3 separate regions of the Homo sapiens genome follow, and all the other regions are linked to region 3. The links are contacts of gene promoters, found by promoter capture Hi-C in blood cells and fetal thymus (Javierre and others, 2016). All regions are on one chromosome and are shown on one strand. The core of a region is centred on a gene start or on the middle of the fragment in contact, and the rest is flanking DNA. Distances in the headings are between cores, read along the strand shown.

Region 1 (4,228 bases), core at 1,210-3,709, 250 kb before region 3:
GGCTCACAGCAGTATGCTTCTCATTTGCAATAGAATTTCTCTCTGGCCTTCAGTGCAAGATGACATTTGTCTCTGGTTATAGGAGACTTACACTGGTACAGATCACCTCTGCATCCTTCTTTCAAAAGAAGCTTTGTCGGGGTTGTTCGGGTCAGCATGTGTTCAAAATTGCAATGATGTAACCCAGTTTCTATTGCTGATCATATTTGTGTCTCATTCTCAAATTTTCATTGCCATGGGAACAGGTACAAAACTTTTGGGAACAAATGATTTATTTTATTGGGAATGAGCATCCAAGTCCTGTAGTTAATTTCAACACCTCTCTACAGGAGAGAGTCAACAGAATTGTCTACGTAGTGTCAGAGAACCAAGAACCTGCCAATGAAACATGATTATACCTCCCTATTCCTCTCCTTGATGAAATAATCTAAAAGCCTCCTGGACAGTCTTCCTCGCTTCTTGCAAATTTTAACTCCTGGTTCACTGTCACTGTCTTCAACACTCTTCCTTGTCCTAATCAACTGTAATTTCAATATCTATATGGGTGATCTTCTCAGGTCTTTAACCTCTTCTCCGCCAAATAACTTATCCTCCATAGTTCCTCAGCCTCCCACTTCCACTGTTATTTTGTCCTTACTCCACCACAGTCTTGGTTGTTACTGTCCTCACCCCACAGCGTCCTGATTTCCATCCTAACCCAGTTTGGATTCCACAGCACATCATCATGGTCACTCCCTTGCCTATGTCTTCAACTCTCTTGTCCTTCTCTCCTGCCATATCCTCCCTTGGCAAACCTCACCACTCTCCCCTACTGCTTATATCCAACTCTCCACCTGCCCTGTACCTTTGCCCACGGAGCTGAATGTGGCTGGGGAAGAAGACCACGAACAAACAAAAACAAATATCGCCACCATGCAGAGAGGTCTTAATTTTAATTCATTTACTTCAAGTGGACCCCAGCAGTCCTGGTACTCCTGCTGCATTTCATTAATCCATTTCCTCACTTTCTCTTCTGTTATCAGATTCCCAGTAGTGCCTCTCTCTTCCACATTTGCTGCTGATGACCTTGTTTTCTATTTTACTAAGAAAAGCAATCCAGAAAAAAAATTCTATATATGCTTTCACCACCTCATTTACTGACCTACCTACATCTGTCTTCCCTTCTGTCATTGGGCAAAACTGTCCCTGCTCCTACTAAGGCCAACTCCACCAGCTGTTCCTTCTGTAGATCAGATCCCCCTTTGCCTGCTCAAGGACATCTGTTAAGCAATCCTCCCTCTCTCTTGCTTCATCAGTTTTGCCCTCTCTACAGAATCCTTCCCATCAGCATGCAAACATGCCTTAGGAAACACCCATTGCAAAAACTCTGCTTAGACCCCATATCCCCTTCCTTACCCCCATATTATTCTGTTCATCTTCACAGCAAAACTCCTTGAAAAGCTTGTTTATATTTATTGTCACCATTTCCTCTCACCCCATTTTCTCATGATCCTTTTATCCAGTTTTCTCCCCATGGTGCCACCAGAACAGCTTTGTCAGCATTACCAGTGACTTCTGGTTGCTAAACTTCTGTGTTGCTAAATCCACTGGTCTTTCTCAGCAGCAGCACTTAACTCAGTTGCCCATTCATTCCTCCTTGACATACTCTCTTCGCCTGGCTTCCAGACGCCACACACTTTGGTTGCCTCCTACTTGTTGACTCAGTCTCTATTGTGGTTTGACCTCTTCACAGACTTGATGACATTGGAGTGTTCCAGGCCTCTATACTTAGACCTCTTCCTTTTTCTATCCACATTCACTCTGGGAGTGACTTCATCAAGTTTCGTAGCTTTGAATTACCCTCTATACATTTATACAAATAGTCACTATTCATGCAGGAAAAAAACAAATTAGTTTGAGATTCTTTTCATGGCTAGGACTTTTTCGGTGATTCATAGAGAGCCTGCTTATATTTAAGATTACAGATGTGGCATCATATTTTGATAACTTTCTGATTATTGTACAAATAGAGGTTGTGTGCAAAACAAAAAACAAAGCAAAAGACAGGAAGTTTTACAACAGACATCTTGGTGATAATGTTTAAAATTTAAATTGTTCTTTCTGTTATTAGCTTCTTAAGCTGTTCTAAGTTCTTTGGAACTCTGATATTCACACCACTGAGACAAGCTTCTAGGAATTAGAATGCAACGATGGCAAATCCAAACATGTCCCTTTTGGGAACTACGCCATTATAATTTCTACGATGAAGTGTAGATGTGTTTGACACAAAAAGCAAATAGCACTGAAAACACTTCATCTTACCATAGGAAAATAAAACGTATGGCACTGTACTTACCAACATGGGGAAGCCGTATTAATGTCAAAGCATCTATTGACCCTTGAGTCTGAAATAGTTAATTAAGATGAATATAAACCAACCACTTTTGATTGTGTGTGTTTGATTTTTTTAATCACTGAGTTTTGTTATATGTAAGTTTTTACAGAATGGAATTCTCCACTATTCAGTGGAGACCTCATCTGATTAAAGGAGTAAAACAATTATGATCAAGACTTTATGACTGAACAACTTGAATGAAGAAATTAAAAGGTGGTATGAACTGGGAAAGAAATGGGGCTTTGGTAACCTGAGAATCCTACCAAATGCTTTTATAGCCATTTTTTCTACCTACTCAGGGAATAAGGAAGGAACCATCATTAAGAATTTTATGGGGAAATTATGATGAATAAAATATTATGATAAAATGAAAGCTTATCTTTTTCTTCATTAGCGCATTGTGTCTCAAGGCTTCCTGACATATAAAGTCTTCACCTGGAAAACAAATGAGCAAAAAACTTAGTGACATTCAGAAGAGATGATTCAGCAATTACTCAGTTCATTTAGTCAGTATCGGTAGTTCATCTGGATGTTTCAGGACCCAAAATGAATTATCTGTAAATTAACTACACAATTGCCAAATAAATCCTCTATTTTGAACTTCATAGAAACATTCTATACACAGGCATTGAATGCGTCCTACTGTATTATTTGTAAGAAATGATTTTTTTTTTTTTGAGGTGGAGTCTCGCTCTGTCACCCAGGCTGGAGTGCAGTGGCGCGATCTCGGCTCACTGCAAGCTCCGCCTCCCGGGTTCACGCCATTCTCCTGCCTCAGCCTCCCGAGTAGCTGGGACTACAGGCGCCCCCCACCACACCCGGCTAATCTTTTGTATTTTTAGTAGAGACGGGGTTTCACTGTGTTAGCCAGGATGGTCTCGATCTCCTGACCTTGTGATCCGCCCACCTCGGCCTCCCAAAGTGCTGGGATTACAGATGTGAGCCACTGTGCCTGGCCAAGAAATGATATTTTTAAATGTTTCTTTGCTAAGCAATATCTCTAGGTATTAGAATATGCAAATATATGCTAAGGTCCAATCAGGACTGGTATTCATTCTAAGCAATGACTCATCTATTAATAATACTGACCTAATATTTTGCAGCTTTGTTGAGGTAAGTTCTTAAGGAATAAGATTGTGAATCCTGGAGAATTGCAGAATTTGTCAAAAGAAAATAAGTACTTAAATTTTTTAGGAATGCAATATGCTAGAAAACTTCCCTTGGGTTAGTTCAGATATGAGAGAGGAAAAAGCATTATCTTGGATATTATACTTTACACACTTAAGTAAGTGACTAGATGTCAAAGCCTCAGATATTGTTTTCATGACAGTTTTCTAATTGGCGCTTTTCTTGGCAGGTTCCCGAAGGAAAAGTAGTCGTTCTCAATTTCCGATTCATAGACCTCGAGAGTGACAACCTGTGCCGCTATGACTTTGTGGATGTGTACAATGGCCATGCCAATGGCCAGCGCATTGGCCGCTTCTGTGGCACTTTCCGGCCTGGAGCCCTTGTGTCCAGTGGCAACAAGATGATGGTGCAGATGATTTCTGATGCCAACACAGCTGGCAATGGCTTCATGGCCATGTTCTCCGCTGCTGAACCAAACGAAAGAGGTACTGTTTCCACATAATGGCAATAACAACAGTAATGTTGGTTCACTGTTCTTGGCACTTGATGTTTATTTACTCCTTTAAAGCTTAAGAGTGGTTCTCAAAGAGCTAGTGAATGCCATCAAACCATGATGAGACCAATACAAAAAATCAGCCTTTTAATTTAAGTCCACATGCATTCTTGTAAATCAAGTATAGAAATTCATAGAGTAAAAATGTGGAGCTTACATACATAAGCACACAT
Region 2 (4,420 bases), core at 1,134-3,633, 190 kb before region 3:
TGAAAGAAAATAACCTTAACTTTCATACGACTTGAAGAAAATAACCTTAAGTTTCATCTTTGGATGTGGAACAAACGTAAGAAACCAAATAAATTAATGCCAAACACACATGGGCACAAACACACACACACGGATGCATGCACATGGATGCATACACAGGGATACAAACATACACGGAGACACACACGGATACACACATGGATGTGCACGCACACACGTACACACCCCCGCACAAGGGGCTCAGTCCCTGATCCTTTTCTTTTCTCTACCTATACTTACTACTTTAATGATCTCACCCAATCTAATGGCTTTAAATATCATCTACATGGCAAAGGCTCTCAAGTTTATATATTTAAGTTCAAATCTTTTACTTCTACAAATTTAAGTAAACCTAGTACCAGGTTTCAGCCTGTTTTGTTCTGTGAGTGCAAATGTCAAAAAAATGCAAAACCACTGCTGCTCATTGTGCATAGTGGGCACTGCACCCTCCCTTAAATCCCATTTTACTCAGAATCAAAACCAGTCTTTACAATGGCCTGCAAGTCTCCAAATTACCTATCCTCTCTGACCTCATCTCCTACTAATCTTTCCTTGTACTATTCTAGTCGCGCTGGCCTCCTTGCTTCCTTGCTGTTCTTTGAACACATGACTCCTGCCTTTAGGGCCTTTATACTGGCTCTTCCTTCTGGCTGGACCCTCCTCACCCAGAGATCCATTTGACTAACTACCTCACTTTTTCATGTCTTTGCTCATCACCCTTCCTGACTACCCTATTTAAAATTGCAAACTCTTTGCAACTTTAAAATTGTCCCCCACTCCCAATTCTCCTAACTCTGCTTTTACCTTTCTTTTGTATTACTTATCTCTTTTCTAACACTGAATATAATTTACTTATTAGGTCTATTATTAATTGATTATCTTTCCCCCACTTTGGGTAAGCTCTTCAAGGGTAAGAATCTTTGTTTTATTTACCGATGTTTCCAAATGTCCTGAAAAGTACCTGATACAAACAAGGTGCTAAAAAATATTGCCAAATGAATAAATATACAAAAATAAAAACCAAAGCAAACAAACAGAAAAACTTTCCGTTTTTTGGCCAGAAGCTCCTCTATAACTATATATTTTTATGGGTACCAGACTTCAGTAACATAATTCAGGATCATTTTATGGTACATTCCTTCATTAAGTCATTTTCGGGGAGACTACAGAGTAACAAAAGAATAGAGTGCTGTAGCATCACACATGGGTGGAGATCAAATTAGGCCAATCAGAATCATTCTCTGGCTTATCAGTAGGCAAAATAATTCCCCTGGGAAACACAAGAAACATTCTTGAAGATCTCTGTTCAAAACATCTTAATTATGCAGTACCCATATTTTATACAGAAAAAAAGTGTTTAAAACATTTGCAGATTTGACAGGAAAAACATTTTTAACAATTCCACCTTAGTATGTTTTTACTCAAAATGAATAGATGAAAACTGTCTAAAAATGTAAAATGAAATAGTCTAGCAGGTAACATTTTATTAACTCAAATACTGTTTTATTTGGGGAAGGAGTAGGGATGAAAGCTTTCTGATATTTCTCATGTTCAACCTTCACCTACCACTCAGAGCTGTGGAGCAGAAACATATTAAACAAATCCTCCATGACCATACTTTCTTGAAGACTCAAAATTATTGTCTAATTCTAGATCCTGATGTGTGCGAATCCTTATTTATGAAACATCTTCAAACAAAAACCCTTATATTTAAACTTTAGATACACTCCTGTTAATATTTAAAACATCAAACTAAGAAAGATGTTTACAGAAATGTGTTTATTTCTGTGAAATGCAATATTTTACCTAAAAGAAACTCTTAACAAAAACTTACAACATGAATTGGAGAAAACTGTTGATCAAAAAAGACAGACATGAAAGTACAGTGAAGACCAATTGGTTAGTTTCCCAGCTCCTCTGCAATACCCCCACAAAAATGAAGCTAATACACTTGATGTATTGCATGTTTCCAAGCTGGATCACAAAGAACATAGTAAGTTGAAACTAATCCAAGCAATACAAACACTACATAACCAACATTCTATATTTTAGGGTCTATTTTTTTTAGAATTAATGTTAATAATAACATTAGAAGGCAGCAATCCCAGCCATCTTGGGATTTCTCAAGGGCTTGATCTTAGGTCCTCTCTTTTTCTCAATTTATCTTTCTCCTTGTGTCTCACCTATGCCTATAGTTTCATATACCACCTATTTTCAGATATGCATACCTTTCTAACTCAAGCTCCAGACCAACTGTCTGCTTGACATCCCTAAAAGGGATATTTAAAAAATATCTCAAAGGCTTTTCAAACTCAACATATCCGAAACTGTACTCAGGATCTACCCCTCAACACACAAATCCCCAAGCCTAGTACTCTTCCAAAAGACCAATATTGCTTAATAATCTCCCTTTCCTTCACCTCTCATATACTATGTATTTCGATGTCCTACTGGCCTTACATTATAAATATCTCTGAAGTCTGTTCCCTTCTCTCTTTCTCTATCACAATCACCCTAAGTCCAAGGTGCCATCAGCTCTCATCTGGATTAGTGCAACAGCATCGATATTGGTCTCCCTCCATCTACTCCTGCCACAGCACTATCCTCCCAGCTCATCCTCCACCCTGTAGATAGAATGATCTTTTCGAAAGGCAAAACTGATCATGTCACTTGCCTACTTCAGGTAGGCAATGGTTTCCCCTTGTTCTTAATATAAAGTCAAAATTACTTAACCTGACCTACAAGGCCATGCATGGTCTGGTACAATATGTTTCTGTAGCTTCATCTTGAATCAAGCTCTCCTGGTTCTCCCTGCTCCAGAAATGTTAGCCTTTACTCAGACCCTTCTTTGTACCATTCTCTCTCTTGCCACTGAGCTTCTGAATGTGCTTTTATCTCAGCCTAGAGTAGCTTCCTCTCCCAGTTCTCTCAGTTGACATCTATTTATCTTTTAGATCTTAGCTCACTTATTACTTCCTCAACGTGTCTTTCCCAACCTCCCTGACTAGGGCAAATGCCCCTATAATATGCTTACTCTCCTAACACTATGATCTTTAACCAATAGCACTTAATCCATTTTTGAGTTTTCATTTTTCCATATGATTCTCAAGTCAAGTTTTTGATGGTTTTATTTGGCTTTTATTAGATCATAAGCTTCACGAGTGTATGGGCCATATCTGCTTTTGCCTGTGCTTAGACAAAGTAGGTACATGACATTTAAAAAATACATTTCTATAATAGCCATTCTATTATGTTTAATAGCAAAAATTAAGTAAAAGGATACCATTAATATTCTGTGCATTCCTCAACAAATTATTCTCTTTTTACCTACCTTGCTTTTTATAACCTAACCTTACTTTTTTCTGAAAAGCTAATGAAAGCAAACAAAACAAATATACAAAAATTGGTCATGATGAGTTAAAAAGTCACTGTGTTCATTGCTTGAAATAGTAAGTTGAACCAAGCAATGACTTTATTTAGGCAAGCAAGCAAAATATTCCTCCATGCTCACTTAGAGCCGGTTTGGATCTATATACTGAAAAAAAGCCCAGAGTGACCTAATTACATAAAAGGCTTAAGAAGACTTCCTTGGCAAGGCTTATTCAGATCAAACTGTTTCAAAGCAGAAGCTGTGCTGAGGAAAGGAAGATACTTCCAGGAATTTTACTGGCTTAATGCACATGCATTCTTCTAGTGAGGTAGAATATGGTTAGAAAATTAATCATATTATGTGTGTAAGGGGGTACCCATGTATATATACGTGTAATATCATTGAAAACAGCATCATATAAAAGGGAAGAGCTATAGTTTTACCATTATTATGAAAATCGGGGACAGCAGTAATATTTATGCTATTCAAAGAGTGGTATGACTATTTTAGTTCGGTGAGTTTTTACTCATTGCTAAGACATATAAACTTTAATTTGATTCTTATACAGACTGGGGTAAACTAAATCTAACAAAACACAGAAAATATTCTTTCTTACTACTAAACAATAGGTTATAGATAAATGTTATAAAATTTCATCTGTTTAAGACTAAGGAATATATAACAATCAGAAATAGTTTAAATGAATATAGGGAAAGTGCTCCTTAGCGATTCTCTTCAAACTAATGTGTAAAATTCTTCCAGGAATTTTTTAACTACTCAACTAGCAATACAAACATATTTCACATTGAAAGAGTCCCACAGTCCAATATAAAACCATATATGGTAAAGTTTAAATTATTTCCTAAATTAAAAGATTAAATTTTAGATAAGAGCAAAACTACAGGAAATAAAAATATTAACAAGAAGGAATTATTTAATTCTCTTTAACCTAGAGTTTAGATGTGTATTATTTTATCTACCTAATTTTAAACATTAATGCATCATAGATTA
Region 3 (4,696 bases), core at 167-2,666:
TAATGGAGGTAAAGAAGAGTATCTGCAGGGAGTGGTAAAAAGACCCCAGAAAATGAGAAAACCTGGATCCCAGGCCTAGCTTTGCCAATGAGGGGCTTGGGTGGCCACAGCAAGTCATCTAACCTCGCTGGTCTCAGTTTTCTCATTTGTAAACTGAAGCAGCTGAACTGGCTGACCTCAAAGGTCTCTACAGCCAAAACTAGACCAGCTGTATATTATTTCTGCCATTAAAACATTTATCATGGGAGGAATGAAGGGGGGCAGGATACCTGTATTCCCTTTCCATATAGGTTTCTCTTCCTGAACTTAAAATTTCCTCTTCCTAAACTTACTACCTCTCTCTCTATATATATATATGCCTCCACATTACACATTAACACTTTACTATAGAATTTCATTACATAATTCAACTTAAAGGAAAGCTGATTACAAAGGTGGTGGGGGGTGTAAAAGTACTTGCTTCAAGTTCAGTGTGTGCCCCCTGTCCTGAAATTTTGCTTCTGGCTCACAGGTTCTTCAAGAAATTTATGCAGCACAGCTGAAGCCTCATACAAGTGTATCCAACACCGTGGCTGGAGGGAAAGATATCACGGTATAAGCCATAAAATGTGACATAGTAAGTAAGTAAAGGAGGAAAAGTGAGAATTCTGTTACTCATCTAAACGACCGCTTCCTTTTAATAGTACCAAATGAAGACCGAAATACAGTAATAATTGAAAAGTTAGGGAGAAATCTTAAATTTTTTTAAGTCTCCACTTGAAAATGCAGCTGAAACACGGAAAGTTTTTTGGCAGTGAAATTCGCTGAAAACTGACATTTTTATGCCGCATCCAGAGGTCCCTATGCTCCAGGAAAGGTACCAAAAACAGCACGGATGGGATTTCACTACAGCCCTATTGATCCTATGCACCAAAAGGCCAAAGGCAAATAAACCAGTCCCAGAATTAAAACAAAACAGGCTGGTTCAGAAAGCCTCACCGGCAGCCACCCAAAGTTGAAAGAAGAAAACTTAATGAAATACCTTATTTCATTGCATAGAATCACAATTCAGTTAACAGGCTTATTGTTTAAGCAGTGTAAATACGCGATTTAACACCTGCGGGCACTGCCTGCCGGGACTGGGCAGAAGCGTGCCCAGAGGACGGCGGGCGCCACACTGCACAGCCAGGAGACGAGACGCGAGCGAGGGGACCCGGAGATACTGCCCCCGAGCCGCCGCGCGCCCCCAAAGGAGTAACGCTTCGCTTTCCATCTGTCTGTCCAGCCTTCCTTTTGGGCCCTATCCCCACCCCCGCGTACCTGCCGCCACCGCTGTCCTGCCTTCGAGAGGGCAGCTCCCACTGGAGATCCAAGTACCTGCAGGTCCACTCTGCGGCTACCTCTCCGCGCCCGCGTAGCCGCTGCGCTCGCGCCACTGCGCATGCTCGGCCGGCACCCGGGCCCGCAAACTCTGAATCCACTTGCCGCGTTTTGCCTGCGGCTCCCAGGGGAGGGAAAGGGAAGCCCAGAACCTGGGTTTAGGCTAAGGGTGAAAGAGGAGTTGCAGGCGCTGGGAGCGTGGATGGGGAGAGGTGGACGGGCGCTGCGGCAACGTTATCTCTACCGCCCACAGTTACCCAAGTCTAAAGATGACCACCTACACCCTGGGAATGAGTTTAGCACAGCAGTTCTCAAACTTGAGCGTGGATCAGAATCACCTGGAGAGCTTTTTAAATCACAGATCCCAAACCCGGAAACTGAGTTTCCGATTCAGTTAGGTCTGGAGCGTAGCGCGACAGTTCCCATTTCTAACATGTTCTCAGCGAAAACTGGTGCTACTAGTCTGGGTACCACACTTTGGGACCTGCTGGTCAAAAGGAAAGGTATACGTTATTAAAGGAAGACTTGTTTCTCTCCCCTACTCTTTTTTTTTCCGTTTGTTTCACGGATTGCTTCCTTTTCCTTTAACAGCCACACCTGATTAAAATAAATATATAACTAAAGCCCACACTCAAACAAAAGTGGGATATTTTCTCTCGCATGTGAGTCAGGTAAATGGAATGCTGCCTCAAGAGTTCTCACATACTTTGCCTGAAGCATAATCCGTAGTTGTGGTCTGTCCAACTCAGTCCAGAGAACAGAACAAGGTTTTGCTGCCCCTTTAACTCAAAGTCCCACGTGCCCCTTCTGCGCCTAACACAATATCCAATACAGAATAGGCACCCAACCAACCCTGAGATGGTAACAATAGAAAAAATAAAGGGGGGAAGTTGAAATTATTTTAAGAACTCAAACAAATTGGACGAGCAATGAACTATGAAAGTAGGTGGGCCATGGAGAGGGAAGATAAGGAATTTTTCCCACCTGCCACCTAGAGAATCAGGTGAATTTAGTATTCTTATCTGATTTTTCCCACCTGCCACCTAGAGAATCTGGTAAATTTAGTATCCTTATCTGATACTTATTTATCTAGATATGCAAGGGGAGTTAAGTAAGTTCTCACAAAATAAAGCAAAATATTTCCTTAAAAGGTAAACATACATCTAACATATGACCCAGCCATTTCATTCCTAGATGTTATCCAAGAGAAATTAAAACATATGCTTACACAAAAACTTGAACAGGAATGCTCATAGCAGCTGTTTTTCACAAAAGCCCCAAACCAGAAGGAACCCAACTGTCCAACAACATGTAAATGAAAAAACAAATTGTGGTATATTTATACAATGCAATACTACTCAACAATAAAAAAGAAGAAATACTCTCACACAGGACTCAATATGGATAACTCTCAAAATCGGTATGCTGAGTTGAAGAAGCTAGAGACAAAACATATTGTATAATCCCACTTATATGAAGTACAAACTAACCTATAATGACAAAACCCAGATTAGTAATTGCCTGGAGCCAGGAGTGGAGGGAAGGATAAACTGCAAATGAGCAGAAAAAATATTTTTGGAGGGGGACGATGGAAATTTTCTCTGTTTTGATGGTAGTGACAAGTTCACAGGTGTATACAACTGTCATCGCTAAGTTGTACACTTTAAACATGAAAAATGTGTGTAAATTATTCACCAATAAGTTTGATAAGAGAACACTTTTTCATGAAATACTCTTATGATCTGTTTTTTTTTCGTGGTAATATTGACCAGGGCAGGTTCATGAGGAAACGTAGATTCTAAATATGGTATAACCTGATTTGGGAAAGGTAAAATAAAAAGTCATCCTCTGTAAATGAAGCTAAAAATAATGCATATAAAATGTCTGTAACAACCCTCTGTAAAAGCAGCCAACCCTAAGATATGATTTGTAAATATACCATTGATAAAACCGTTTCCCAAAATTGTTTCCAAGTGTAAAATAATAACTAGAGTATATCATTAGAAATGCACAACCAGGGCCCAGTGCAGTAGCTCACGCCTGTAATCCCAGCACGTTGGCAGGCCAAAGTGGGCAGATCACCTAAGGTCAGGAGTTCAAGACCAGCCTGAGCAACATGATGAAACCCCGTCTCTTCTAAAAATACAAAAATTAGCCGGTCGTGGTGGCAAGCGCCTGTAATCCCAGCTACTCAGGTGGTTGAGGCAGGAGAATCTCTTGAACCCAGGAGGCAGAGGTTGCAGTGAGCCAAGATCAAGCCACTACACTCTAACCTGGGCGACAGAGCGAGACTCTGTCTCAGAAAAAAAAAAAAAAGAAATGCACAACCAGCGTGTAATAATTATATAAAGAAAATTGTTACCTGCTTAACTGATTGTATCACTAGCAATGACAAATAAGGTATTCAAACTGTGTTTCCAGGAGCTCTGGGTTTCATGGAGAGAAAAATACGCAGGGCTCTGGATCAAGGACCCTAACCCAGACTGCTTACATATTGTAGTATCTTGTGAAATCTTATTTGATAAAAGGGTTTCACTGATAATTTTGTTTTTTTGAGACTGAGTCTCGCTCTGTTGCCCCGGCTGGAGTTCAGTGGCACGACCTCAGCTCACTGCAACCTCCACCTCCCAGGTTCAAGAGATGCTCCTACCTCAGCCTCCTGAGTAGCTGGGATTACAGGTGCACACCACCACACCTAGTTAATTTTTTTAATTTTAGTAGAGACAGAGTTTCTCCATGTTGGCCAGTCTGGTCTCGAACTCCTGACCTCAGGTGATCCACCCTCCTCGGCCTCTCACAGTGCTGAGATTATAGGTGTGAGCCACCGCACCTGGCCATCATTGATAATTAAAAGAGCAATCGTTTGAAAACAATTGAAGTAATAGTATCAGGTCGTAAGAATTCACAAAGAGATGGTATATTTGGTGGACCTGTTTTTTGGCTTGCAGAGCAATGAGAAAAAATACATACAAAGATTTTTAAACTAGTTAAAAATGTACACTGTAGTTATAGTAACCATATGTTCCAATTTTTGTAGAATAGTCTTCATTTAAATATTTGTTTATTACATAAATTATATCTAATCATGTATTCCAACTGTTGGTTGAAAAAAATAACATCTTTTAAGCTGGGGGTTGTTTTTCAAAATAATATAAAAAATCACGAACTAAAAATAAAACGAGGATAAAGCAGGGCATGGTGACACACACGTAATGCCAGCATTTTGGGAGGCCAAGGTGGAAAGGGCACTTGAGCTCAGGAGTTCAAGACCAGCCTAGACAACGTGGAAAAAACCCATCTCTAAAAAAAAAACAAAACCAAAATTAGCCAGGTGTGG

Evidence for each region. Contacts are between HindIII fragments. The CHiCAGO score rates a contact against its expected background, and 5 or more counts as called.
Region 1: a contact is called between a fragment that was not itself captured here and the fragment with the promoter of PLS1 in region 3, in 4 of 17 cell types (M2 macrophages, M0 macrophages, endothelial precursors and 1 more). The highest score is 7.6, in M2 macrophages.
Region 2: a fragment that was not itself captured here is called in contact with the fragment with the promoter of PLS1 in region 3 in 1 of 17 cell types (megakaryocytes); the score reaches 5.0 in megakaryocytes.

Annotation. Positions count from the first base shown.
Region 1 is chr3:142,847,976-142,852,203 of GRCh38, reverse strand. PCOLCE2 (procollagen C-endopeptidase enhancer 2) reads left to right here. Exons shown (of 9, transcript NM_013363.4): 3 at 3,732-3,987. Among named protein-coding and RNA genes, the nearest start is that of PCOLCE2, 39 kb to the left of the region's middle. The HindIII fragment of the contact is 582 bases long and covers 2,169-2,750 here.
Region 2 is chr3:142,786,439-142,790,858 of GRCh38, reverse strand. All of the region lies in intron 7 of TRPC1 (transient receptor potential cation channel subfamily C member 1), which reads right to left. Among named protein-coding and RNA genes, the nearest start is that of TRPC1, 65 kb to the right of the region's middle. The HindIII fragment of the contact is 1,622 bases long and covers 1,573-3,194 here.
Region 3 is chr3:142,593,113-142,597,808 of GRCh38, reverse strand. PLS1 (plastin 1) reads right to left here and starts at 1,416. Exons shown (of 16, transcript NM_001145319.2): 1 at 1,300-1,416. It overlaps PLS1-AS1 (PLS1 antisense RNA 1), which reads left to right. Exons shown (of 4, transcript XR_001740938.2): 4 at 512-1,900. RefSeq lists an enhancer at 1,121-1,360. The HindIII fragment of the contact is 10,696 bases long and covers 1-4,696 here.